Linked DNA regions of Homo sapiens: all the other regions are linked to region 1. The links are contacts of gene promoters, found by promoter capture Hi-C in blood cells and fetal thymus (Javierre and others, 2016). All regions are on one chromosome and are shown on one strand. Each heading gives the region's core, a stretch centred on a gene start or on the middle of the fragment in contact. The rest is flanking DNA. Distances are from core to core; before and after follow the strand shown.

The links. The method cuts DNA at HindIII sites, captures the fragments that hold promoters and counts their contacts. A CHiCAGO score of 5 or more calls a contact.
Region 2: a contact is called between a fragment that was not itself captured here and the fragment with the promoter of FPR3 in region 1, in 1 of 17 cell types (monocytes). The highest score is 5.2, in monocytes.
Region 3: a contact is called between a fragment that was not itself captured here and the fragment with the promoter of FPR3 in region 1, in 1 of 17 cell types (monocytes). The highest score is 6.1, in monocytes.

The regions. Positions count from the first base shown.
Region 1 is chr19:51,792,796-51,797,105 of GRCh38, forward strand. FPR3 (formyl peptide receptor 3) reads left to right here and starts at 2,362. Exons shown (of 2, transcript NM_002030.5): 1 at 2,362-2,536. The HindIII fragment of the contact is 12,110 bases long and covers 1-4,310 here.
Region 2 is chr19:51,578,289-51,582,498 of GRCh38, forward strand. It overlaps ZNF175 (zinc finger protein 175), which reads left to right. Exons shown (of 5, transcript NM_007147.4): 3 at 3,103-3,229; 4 at 3,499-3,594. Among named protein-coding and RNA genes, the nearest start is that of ZNF175, 9.1 kb to the left of the region's middle. The HindIII fragment of the contact is 179 bases long and covers 2,569-2,747 here.
Region 3 is chr19:51,539,603-51,544,150 of GRCh38, forward strand. No RefSeq gene overlaps it. Among named protein-coding and RNA genes, the nearest start is that of SIGLEC6, 10 kb to the left of the region's middle. The HindIII fragment of the contact is 6,858 bases long and covers 1-4,548 here.

The DNA of each region.
Region 1 (4,310 bases), core at 1,112-3,611:
ACACCACCACACCCAGCTAATATTTTTTTGGTTTTAGAGATGGGGTCTCACTATGTTGCCCAGGCTGGTCTTGAACTCCTGAGCTCAAGCAATCTTCCTGTCTTGGCCTCCCCAAATTCTGGCATTACAGGCGTGAGCCACTGTCCCTGACCTTTATTTTTATGTATCGGTATTTTTGTTATTTCTTGGCCATTGATTGGTCTAGAGATGGCATGCTCTGGCAATGAAAGACAAGGAGAGGTCCTGAAGAGACTCTGGACAAGGTTTCCCTCTGTAATAAAATGGAAGAGGCATGTGAATGAGTCACATTTTCTGCCTGTCTCATGATTCTGGCTCGGGAGGGCCTGTTGATGCAATGTCCAGAACAGTGGCAGCCATTCTGTGGTCACTTTCAAGAAAGCCCTAGAAGAAAACCAATATGATGATGGAGTGGAAGGGTGACATTAAACTCAATTTTTGTTCAAACTCCAGATCTATCCCCTTCCAAAACTTTTTTTAATAATAAATTTCTCCATGGCTTATGTGCTTCATTGGTTTACTCTACCTTATCACTGAAAACATCCAGTGAATCAGAGAGAAAATAGAAAATAGTTGACTCTTGTTTTGTGGCTCTCCACTGTTTTTCATGGTTCTATTCCTTGGGCTTGAGAACAACATTCTGATGGTGTTTAAAAACTCAGAAAGAGCCCATCTCCTTAGATCAGTAGTCCATAGAGCATCTCCCTAGGGGCAGAAGGTTAGGGGGTTAATCTCGGCAATGGTGTGGAGTGTACAGTGTCTCTCATTTACCTTCCTTACCTCTCTACATGCTCCTAGTTACTGCTTCTCTTTGTAACTCTGAGGTATGAAATACCTCAAAGCATATTTGATTTTGTCACAGATTTCTGGCACAGGGCTCTTAAAACCCTTGGAATTCCCTGAGTGATAGGAGTATTATTTGTTATTCATAAACAGCCCCTTTTGATCATAGCTGAGTTTATGCTAAGGAGATCATGGCCTTAGGATGGGACTGGTCACCAGAAAGACCAAGGGATTAGAGGGTTGGAGCTGTCAGCCCCACCTACTGATCTCCAGGAAGGGGAGGCAGGGACTGGAGATTGAGTTCCATAAAAACTCTTGAACAATGAGATTTGATGAGCTTCCACATTGGTGAACACTCAGGAGTGCTGGGAGAGTGGCTGCCTGAAGAGAGCATGGAAGCTCCATGCACCACCCAACCCCTTCCCTGCCATATACCTGCCATATGCCTCTTTCCAATGGACTATTCCTGAGGTATATTCCTTATATAAAGCAACAGATGCAAACAAAGTGCTTTCCTGAGTTCTGTGTGCCATTCTAGCAATTTATTGGTGTCATTGGAACACCCAATTTATAGCCTGTCAGTCAGAAGTACAAGTAGCCACCTGGGACTTGCAACAGATGTCTGATCTGATCTGAGAACAGTTTGTGGGAGTGAGCCCTTTAGCTTTTCGGATCTGAGCTGAATCCAGGTAGACAGCATCATAACCGAATTTTTAATTGCAGGTGGCCCAGGTGGTGTCCCCAGAGAATTGGAGAATTTCTTGGTGTAGAGAAAAAGTATATTTGGTCAGAAGGATTGTGAAAGTAGAGAATCGAGTTTTTGTTTCACCGTGCATCTTTGTTTTTTTATTGTTTTTCCTCTCATTCTTCTCACCTTGGTAATTGTTTCTTTCATTTTCCTGAATCTCTGAAAAGAAAGGGCCTGGACTCTCAGATTTCTTGGCCTTTGATATTTGGAAGGATGAACTCCAGTCTCCCACAGAAGGCTAGAGGTGAAGGAACATTCAGACACATAAGTTTCCAAGATAAATCGTCTGAGAACATCTCCAAGGTGTCTTCTGGGAATGGTAAGAAACCCTGAGTTTGTGTCACTGGATTGATTCCAGCTCCATTGTCCCCGTGTCCTTCAACTAAGTCTCTGCTGAAGCCTGTTCTATAAAAACAGCAAGTAAGTGGTTTGGACTGACCTATTGTACTAGGTTCGACAAAGCAAACCAAATGGAGTCAGTCATACTAAAACTCCACATCACCAAACCAAAACTAATGTATCTGAACTTTTGAGAAATCAGGAGAGAGAGAAAATGGACAAATTCCTAAAACAGGCCAGTTTCAGTGGGCATGAACATGAAGTTCTGTCTGCTTTCATCTTTACAAAAAAAAAAAAAAAGCAATCTGTGGTAACTTGACTTCAATCAATCAGTTGTTCCTTATTGCTGTCTCTCTATTCCTGCTGCACAAAAAAAATGCAACATCCAGATGACCAATCAGGTTTTTGTTCTCTGTTTCTGCTTTCTTTAGCCCTCCTATCCCTGTAAAACCAACTTCCTTGGCTCTAACTATCAAAACACTCATTTTGTTTTATAGCATGACAGGCTGTCTGATTCCATCTTTATAACCAAAGCCAATTAAGATCTTAAAACCAAACATATAACTTCATCTTTTTACAAGTACTTAGAGCCTGAGTTGCTCCACAGGAATCCAGGAACTGGGCACAGGAAAAGGATCTAAGCTGGTGGTAAGTTGGGGTCTGAAAATTTTAAAGTTATTGTTGAAATGCCTGCTATATGACAGAGCCCTTCTAACTCTGGAGTAGCGTAGTCCAGTGAAGAATCCACTTCGTTAGTATGAAAACAATGTTAACTATTTCATTAACAGTGTTTAATTTGGTTACATGTTCCAGTAACATTCTTTTTTTTTTTTTTTTTTTTTTTTTTTTTGATGGAGTCTTGCGCTGTCACCCAGGCTGGAGTGCAGTGGCACAATCTCAGCCCACTGCAACCTCTGCCTCCCAGGTTCAAGCGATTCTCCTGCCTCAGCCTCCTGAGTAGCTGGGATTACAGGCACCTGCCACCACGCCTGGCTAATTTTTTGTATTTTTAGTAGAGACGGGGTTTCAATATGTTGGCCAGGCTGGTCTTCAACTCCTGACCTCGTGATCTGCCCACCTCGGCCTCCCAAAGTGCTGGGATTACAGGCGTGAGCCAATGTGACTGGCCAATTCTTTATCATATATGTAATTAAATAAAATTTATTACTAAAATAATTTCCCCAAAGGTGTTTTACTTTTTTAAAAACAGTGGCTACAAAAAAATTTTGAGTCCCATATGTAGCTAAAGTTAACACATTATATTTCTACTGGACATGTAGCATTGTAGAGATGTAGCATTGAAGGATCTTGATAGTCCTGTGGAGCTTACGTACTAGTGTGGAGGGTATTTAAGAGAGAAGATAAATGAACAAACAAATAAAGGAGAAAAGTATCTGGTGAGATAGGCTGTACCTGAGCATTCTGCTTTGCAGAGTGGGTGAGGTGGGATCTCTCTGAAATAATATTTGACCTGAAATATGAATATTCAGGATGAGCCAGGTGCAGGAAGCTCAAGACGAAGAGCACGGTAGGCAGAAGGAATAGAGAAAGCAGAAGCCCTGAGATGACAAAGAGCTGCAAGTTCAAGGAATTAGAGCCCAGTGGGTGGAGCCCAGTGTGTCTGATGAGAGTGCAGAGATGAGGTCTGAGGGATGCACAGGGCACATGTGGCAGTGGATAAGGGAACCTAGGATAAGGGAACCTAAGATAAGGGTAACTTAGAAGTCTGGAAGCCATCGGAAGGTATTGCGAATAACATCACCATCTTATTGGACCTTTTTAAAGCTCATTTGGTTTCTGTCTGGAGAATGGATCTTAGGGGAGGGGGCAGCAGGACCAGGAAAAAGCTATTTGCAAGGCTTGTGCAAATATCCAAGCCTGACAGGGCCATGGACACCGGTCGTGGAGATGGCAATGGCTCTGGCTGTGCATTCAGCATGTTCTGTAGATAGAATGAGTAAGACGTGGATGGCGTTGGGTGGTGAGGAAAAGAGAAATGAAAGGTGAGTTCTAGATCTGGAGCTTTAACAACTGAATATTTAATCTCCAAATAGATACAGAATATTGGAAGAGTGGCAGGTCTGGGAGGCAGAGAACATCAACAGTTTGGTAAAACCATGTGAGGTTTGGAGTCTATGGGACTCCCACGGGGAGAGGTTTTATCAGACTTGAGTGCCAGGGAGAGGCCACGGCTGATAATTTAGATGAAAAGACAGCATAATGGTTTAATCCCAGAGACTGGATGATATCATTTATAGAATGTGAGATACCCCAACATTTAGAGTCAAATTTAGAATAGAAAACACCGTAAATTGGACTAAAAAGAGGAAGAGAATCGAGCTGTAGAGACGACCAAGAGTGTATTGTGTGCACATATCTCTTGGATATATCTCATGGCATAGGAAAAATGTGTTTGAAAAGG
Region 2 (4,210 bases), core at 1,408-3,907, 210 kb before region 1:
ACTTGGGAGGCTGAGGCAGGAGAATCGCCTGAACCCGGGAGGTGGAGGTTGCAGTGATCCAAGATCATGCCATTGCATTCCAGCCTGGGCAACAAGAGTGAAACTCCATCTCAAAAAAAAAGAAGCAAGCCCCAGAATGGGAAAAGATTCTTGTTACACATACAGCTGACAAAAGGTTCCTATAAAACGTTGAGGACGGCTGGGCGTGGTGGCTTATGCCTATAACCCCAGCACATTGGGAGGCCAAGATGGGAGGATTGCTTGAGCCCAGGAGTTTGAGACGATCCTGAGCGTCATAGGGAGACCCCATCTTTACAAAAAATAGAAAAATTAGCTAGGTGTGGTGGTGTGTGCCTGTGATCCCAGCTACTCAGGAGGCTGACACGGGAGAATCACTTGAGCCCGGAGGTCGAGGCTGCAGTGAGCTGTGATTGCACCACTGCATTCCATCCTGGGTGACAGAGTGACATCCTGTCTCAAAAAACAAAAACAAAAGACCTGAGAGGTTTACAGGACAATGAGATACTCCTTCAGAAACACAGAAATGGCCACGTGCAGTGGCTCACACCTGTAATCCCAAAACTTTGGGAGGCCAAGGTGGGTGGATCGTGTGAGCTCATGAGTTTGAGACCAGCATGGGCAACATGCTGAAACCCCATCTCTACAAAAAATACAAAAATTAAGGCTGAGTGTGGTGACTCACACCTGTAATCTCAGAACTTTGGGAGGCAGAGATGGGCCGATCACTTGAGGCCAGAGTTTAAGACCAGCCTGGCCAACATAATGAAACCCCGTGTCTACTAAAAATACAAAAATTAGCCAGGCATGTTGGCAGGCACCTGTAATCCCAGCTACTTGGGAGGCTGAGGCAGGAGAATCGCTTGAACCCAGGAGTCAGAGGCTGCAGTGAGCCAAGAGCATGCCAGTGCACTCCAGCCTTAGTGACAGAGTAGACTCCATCTCAAAAAAAAAAAAAAAAAAAAAAAGCTGGACATGGTAGTGCACGCCTGTGGTCCCAGCTACTTGGGAAGCTGAGGCAGGAGGATCGCTTGAGTCTGAGAGGCAGAGGCTGCAGTGAGCCATGCTCGTGCCACTGCAATCCAGCTTGGGCAACAGAGTGAGATTCTATCTCCCAAAAAAAATTTTTTTTTTTTGAGGAAAAGTGTTTTTTAACCCAGTAGAAAACTGAAGAAGAGACTTGCTTGAATAGGCTGGTAAACATGGGAAGATGCTCAGCTTCATTAGTCATCTGGGAATTGCCAGTGTAACTCCCATGCCTGTACCAAAATGCATACAGTTACCAACACTGATAATACCAAATGTAGGTGAGGATACAGAGCAACCAGAAGGATTTTGTGTGCTGCTGGTAAGCATATAAATTGGTACAACCAATTTGGAAAATGATTTCTAATTTTCTACTAAAGGCGAGCATGTTTTTCCCATGACCCAGAATTCCACCCCTGGGTATATGCCCAACATCTGTTCTGAACTGGTATTTAAATGTAGACCTGTGCTGTCCAGTATGGTAGCCACTCACCACATGTAGCTATTGAGCACTTGAATGCGGCTGGTTCACCCTGAGATGTGCTTGAAGTATAAAATATATGCTGACTTCTGAAAACTTAGTATGAAAACAGAATGTAAAGCATCTCATCTCGATGATTTTTAAAATATTGAATATAGAATATTCAATATATAGAATATAGAATGTTTTAATATATGTAATATTAAAATATTACATATAGAAATGATAATGTTTTGAATATAATGGATTAAGTAAAAATATCATTAAATTGATTTTATCTGTCTTTTAAACATGGCTACTAGACAATTTTAAGTTATATGTGTGGCTCACATTCACGGTTCATGTTTTATTTCCATTGGATGGCTCTCCTCTAGAGGCTTGATCAGAGTCCACTTGGATTTCTTTGTTTTTGGAAATGATACTTAATAGTTTGCACACCACGTATTTTCCTACCTCTCTACTTTTATTTTTTTATTTTGCATCATATTAGGTGCACTTTAATATCTGGTTATCTCTCTCCTTGTGATAAAATTGATGATTGGGTTCAGATATTGTCAGCCTACTCCTCCATTATAAAGACCCATCAGTCTTTCATATGGTTTTAGCAGTCATTGGTGATCAGTAACAGTGACATTTTTGTTTTGTCCTTCAGGCTGCATTTATCATCTGCAGTACTTCTGTAATGAAGATCTTTCCATCATCAGTCCTTTCATTAACCTAATATTAGTTATTACAGGAGAGATCATCTTGTTGAAATATTATATGATCATATCTCTTCCCTGCACTTAAAATCCTGAAATGGCAGTCCGTTCATTAAAATAAATAATCCATACCCATTATATATTGAGGCACCAGCCCACTTCTTTGGAGCTTGGATGGTAACCACCTTCCAAACATGACATAGTCGCCTCTTATCTTACACAGAGCTGTCTGCTTCTCCCTGAATTCACAGTGTTTTCCTACCTCTCTAGTTTTATTCATGCTCTTTTCTGGAAAATGATTTCCTTCACACATCCTGCATCACAGTTCTTACTTCCAGCGTAAGCTTCACCAACTCTAAGTAGCATTACCTTCTACTCCTAGGTAGAATTTGCCTTTCCCTAATTTGCCCTTCCCCAACAGTGTCCTCTGCATATATTTCTACCATGTTCCCTTTTTAACCCTGTAGTTGAGCTTTTGTATTTACATGTCTTCCAAGTCTCTGAGTTGCTGCAAGAGTAGAAGCTTATGTAATTCTGTGTTGAGCACCAGAACCCAGCTCAACTACAGCCTCACATGTAGTTGCTTCGTCAACATCATGCTGGTTATTCCTAAATTAGCTAAAGGACTTAGAGGGAACCCATTTCTGGCCTCATTTTTGAAAAAAAAAAATGAATGAATGAATGTAGGTGTACAGTGGATGGAGGATATTTCTCTTATTTTTTTTTAAATCCCTAAAAATGTGAAATAGGTGTTTGGTGGGAAGCCTCTGTGATGGATCGTGGTGAAAATCATTAAAAGCATGTTCCTCCTATATGTGCCATCCCCACTCGCCAATGATGACCTAATTCACAGTGAGCTGGGGTACACTGTTACAGGCATCAGTGTCATTTGAGGACGTGACCGTGGACTTCAGCAGGGAGGAGTGGCAGCAACTGGACCCTGCCCAGAGATGCCTGTACCGGGATGTGATGCTGGAGCTCTATAGCCATCTCTTCGCAGTGGGTGAGCACAACTGACCTGGGAATCTTGGCTGGATCCTGTTGAGGAGATTTCCTTCCTCCTCATTGCAGAACGCAGTGGGATATCAAAGTATGTCATGACTCTTTTATCGGTTTGTCCTGGATTGTTTGTTTCTTTTGGGCACCTTCTAGTATTATTTTGTGCCCAGTGGAAAATGTTGACTTTTCTAATGAGCCAGTGTAAAGCTTCATTGAATGGCCTCTAAAACTGAAGAAGCTACACCCAAATCCAGTATCCTTTCTAATTAACAGGGTATCACATTCCCAACCCAGAGGTCATCTTCAGAATGCTAAAAGAAAAGGAGCCGCGTGTGGAGGAGGCTGAAGTCTCACATCAGAGGTGTCAAGGTGAGTAAGTTGTACCCGGGCAAATGTAGATATCTTTGCAGGGAACCATTACCAGTCTACCATACTTTTCTATTCCCTCCATTCCCCCAGTGATGGCCCGTAGATTGCCTCCTACTCCCAGTTTCCCATCAAACACTGTAAATGTGCTATAAATGTTAAATGTCCTATAGGGGCTGCCTTAAGAATTTTCCATTGGTGAATACTCAGGAATGGGATTGCCTGGTCCTGGAGATAAGTATACTTGACTAAATCAACCATATTGCTCTTCTGATGGGCTGCACCAGTTCACACTCCCCATGTGCAGTGCACAAGGATTTGCATTTGCACATCTTGCTTGCTAACACTTGGCATTAACAAAATTGGTGAATTTATAGCCCTACTGATAGGTGAAAGGGCTGTTTCATTTTTTTTTGTTTTTGGTTTTGGTTTTTTTGAGACAGAGTCTCACTCTGTCACCTAGGCTAGGGTGCAGTGGCACGATCTTGGCTTACTGCAACCTCTGCCTCCTGGGTTCAAGTGATTCTCCTGCCTCAGCCTCCCGAGTAGCTGGGACTACAGGCACCCGCCACCACACTCGGCTAATTTTTTGTATTTTTAGTAGAGACAGGGTTTCACC
Region 3 (4,548 bases), core at 1,878-4,377, 250 kb before region 1:
AACTTATATCTTTATCTAAATTGCTCAGTTTAATAAAAATAATTTAATGGGTTAAGACACTGCCTTCAACTGGGTTTTAGTTTAGAGCAGGAGACAGACCCTACGTGAATATTTAACGTTGCATCTGGGCACTTTTTCTGACCTATGCCAGTTTGCCAACCAGTGTTTGTCCAACATACAAAGATAGGCTGCATATACTCAGAAACTGAATTACTGAGATTTCAACAATATACAAAAGTCATTTCATATGCTCAAACTTTCCATTTATTCTCTTATTTAAGGAAAAGTGTGCATTGTTAACAGAAAAACAGGTTCTTGTGCCAGCAGGCTAGTAAATCTCATAATTTCATTAAAAACACTTTGGGTCACTTTGTACACTATTAATGGGACTGTACGTTAGCACAGCCATTATGGAAAGCAGGAGGTTTGTCCTCCCAAAATTAAAAATGGAACTACCATATGATCCAGAAATCCCATTTATGGGTATCTATTGAAAGAAAACAAAAGAGACATTTGTACTCCCATGTTTACCAAAGTACTATCCACAATAGTCAAGATATGGAATCAACCTAAGTGTCCATCAATGGGTGAATGGATAAAGAAAATGTGGCATGTATACGCAAGAGAATATTATTCAGCTTTGAAAAGAAAGAAAATTTTGTCACTTGCAACAACATGGATGAACCTGGAGGACAATATGCCAAGTGAAATAAGCCAGGCACGGAAAGGCAAATACTTCGATTCTGCTTATATGAGGAATCTGTAGAAGTCAATTTCATAAAAGCAGAGGCTAGAACCCTGGTGATCAGGGGTGGAGGTTGGAGACAATGAAGAGATGTTAGTCAGAGGGTACCAAGTTTCAGGTAGACAAGAGGAATCTGGAAATCTCCTGTACTGCATGGTGACTATAGCTAATAATACTGTATCATATATTTCAATACTGCTAAGATAGTAAATTTCCAATGTTCTCATCACAAAACAAAACAAATATTGCTGGATACAAAGCAATCCTTTTGATGAGTATAAGGTGTTACTTTAAAGTGCAAAGGGGTTGATAAGTGTGAGATGGCAATGCATATATTAGCTTATTTCTTCATTACACAATGTACACATATTTTAAAGCATTATGTTACATATCATAAATATACACAATTTTATTTGTCTATTAAAATAGAATAATGATAAAACACAAAGGAAATGTCCACAAAACATCACATTGTATGCTGTAAATAAATACAATATTTATTTTTAATTACACCTCAATAAGGCTGGAAATATTGCTTTGAAAAATCCAAAGGCACCAGGCACGATGGCGGGTACCTGCTGTTCCCACTATTCAAGAGGCGGCTGTGAAGGAGGATAGCTTGAGCCCAGGAATTCCAGGCTACAGTGGGCTATGACAATCATACCTATGAAAAGCCACCACACTCCCACCTGGGCAACAAAGTAAGAACCTTCTAAAAAATATAATAAACAAATAAAATTTTAAAACTCCAGATGGAATCCAAATAAATTTTTGGAATTAATAAACAAAAAAACCTGCCGTTGCAAAGATCATGAGTGACAAAGGTGCCCACTTCTCCGTCTGTCCTCACCCCTGTCTCTCCTCATCTGTGGTCATCACTTTACTCCAGCTGTGCATTGAAACATCTCCATCCTGGACCCCTCTCCTGAGCTCCAGACATTTGCATTCAGCTGTCTCCCTCCTATCCCCATTCAGATGTCAGGGGGATTCTCAGAATTATCATCGCCCCTGAAAGCCACCCGTCTGCAGTCCTCCATGGACACAGCTCTTTCCTTCCAGGTGCTCAGAGGAACATTCTGGCCCCATCCTTGCTCTTCCCTTCCCCTCCCTGACAACACTCATTAGAAAATTCTGTGAGCCTGACCTTCCACTCACATCCAAAAACACATCCTTACCCCATCCTGCCTCCCTGGCTCAGCCCCATGCCTCCTCCTGGATGACCCAGCAGCACCTTCCCAGCCTCCTTGGCTGCCGTGACACACGCGGTTCTGCTCTGACCAGAGCAGCTGAGGGTCCTGTTAGAGTGAGAGTCCAGTCAAGCCTCTGCTCTCTCCAAAGGCTCCAGGTTCCTGCGTAGCCTCAGGGCCCCACGCAGGCTGCCCTGTCATCCCCGCTGCTCCCTCCTCTGCCTCCTTCTGCTCTCAGACTGGGGCTCTGGCTGTGTCTGCAATGCCCAGGCCTGCTGCTGCCTCTGAGCAATGCACTCACTGCTCCCCTTCCCTCTTGCTGGGATGCTTGTCTCTCATTCAGACACAGAGCCTCCCTGCTCAGCACCTTCATGCCTTTGCTCACACACCACCTCCCCTCATTATCAGATAAGAAACGGTTCCCCAGTCTATCTTATGTTTCTTTCCCTGCATGCTTTTTCTCCAAACACAGATCTCCACCCCACATGCTCTTATTTTATTTATTATTTCTTTTCATTTGTACTTTTCCTGTCTCTAGAATGATAGCTTCTTGAAGACAGAGATTTTTTTCGTGCTGTGTCTACTGATGAACCCCTGGTGCCAATAATAATGCTGACACATAATGGATGCTCAGTAGAGTCACTGAAGTTAGTCGCTTCGTGTCTATCACCAATAATGCCTCTGCTCCACTCAGAACCAAATAAGAATTACACACACACACATACACACACACATGCACACAACACACACACAACCCTGAGTGACATTAAGACTGAGCCTGAAGGACAATTGGGACCTAGATTGGCAGGAATGGGAGGGAAGGGCATTTCAGGAGAAGGAATTACACACGCAAAGTCTCAGAGCCACAGAGGGCTTGGCCTGCAGAGACTTTGGGTGGAGAGTCTGGCCAGGAACAGACTGTGCAAGGCCTCCATTCCAGGCTGTGGCATTTTCCCCTTGTTCTCCAGCACCAGAGAGGAAACACGGCTGCTCAGACTGTGGAGGAACTGGATGAGGAGGCATCTGGAAACGGAGTCTGGAGTCTGTGTTGGGAGAGATGGAGGCAGGAGGTGAGGAGGGCTCAGTGTTCAGGGAGGAGGCGAGGCCCCAGGCATGACCAGGGCCAAGATGGAGAAAAGGGCCCCAGGATGAACCCTGCTTAGAAGGAGGGACAAGAATTAGTGATTTGTGGGATCTGGAGGAGGGAGGGAGGTGAAGGTGAAGACCCATATCCTGGTTCTGACTTTAGAGATGGGAGCCACTATGTCATCAGTAGGATGGGGATCCCAGGAGAAGTGGGTTGGGGGAAGAAGATGGGCAGCTCAACTTAAGCCATACTGAGCAGAGCAATCCTGGAGGCCATTGAGGGGGAGGTGTCCAGTGGGATGTTGAGGATGAGATGCCCACAACCCCTGAGAGATTAGCCCGTGACAGGGTCTGCAGCCTCCACGCCTGCTGCTGCCCTTCCTTCCTGCAGAAACTGACAGTGAGTAAAAAGACAAAGGCCTGCCAGTGTGGCCGGATCGGGGTGCAGAGGGCAGCAGACTCATCTCCCCGTGCCCTGCTAAGGGGCAGGAGGGGACTGGGGTGGAGAGAGCAGGCCTAGCCCCCAGAACCTCCCTAATGAGAGCAGGAACCTCCCAGCCCGGACATTCAGTGAAAGCCGAGGTCAGACAACAATTGGTCCATGTGGAATTCTCGCCACAATTCAGCCTACTGCCTGGCCCTCTTGAGCCTTCAGATTCCTCCAGCACTGGGACCTGGGATTCAGCACCATGTCCCCTGTACTCCCCACATCTCTCCTTGGTCCCTGGGGCAGCGCTCAGCTGAGGAAGAGGAAGCAGAGGCAGATAGGCAGGATCTTCACAGCCGCCTCCCCGACAGCCACCAAGACCACCTCCACCACAGGCCCTGATTTCAAAAAGTTTTGCCCCGGCTGGGAGCAGTGGCTCACACCTGTATCCCAGCACTTTGGGATGCTGAGGTGGGCAGATCACTTGAGGCCAGGAGTTCAAGACCAGCTTGGCCAACATAGCAAAACCCTGTCTCTACTAAAAATACAAAAGAAATTACCTGGGTGTGGTGGCACATGCCTGTAATCCCAGCTGCTAGGGAGGCTGAGGCACAAGAATTGCTTGAACCTGGGAGGCAGAGGTTGCAGTGAGCCAAGATCACACCACTGCAGTCCAGCCTGGGCAACAGAGTGAGACTCTATCTCAAAAAATAAAAAAAAAAGTTTTGCCCCACAATGGGTAGGTGAATACATACACTTTTACCCCTCCCTGTTGCGCGTGTAACCTTGTTCACCTTCATGGGTTCTCCATGGCCATATTTTTTCAAAATTAGAAAGAACATATGACCCAACTATTTTGCATTTAAGAACTGATTTCACAGGCATAGATGTACACTTGTGGCAGTAGATACAAGATTATTTATTGCAGTGTTACTGTTGGTAAGATAAAATTAGTGCCATGATATTCCATTAGGCACAAAATCAGAGTCCACATTTTTGATGCCACGAAATTGGAGTCCATCCACACAGTGGAATCACCCACAGTACTGGAGGAGAGTAATGTCACTCTGATGTCACTACTGATGTTAAACCATCACTGAGAT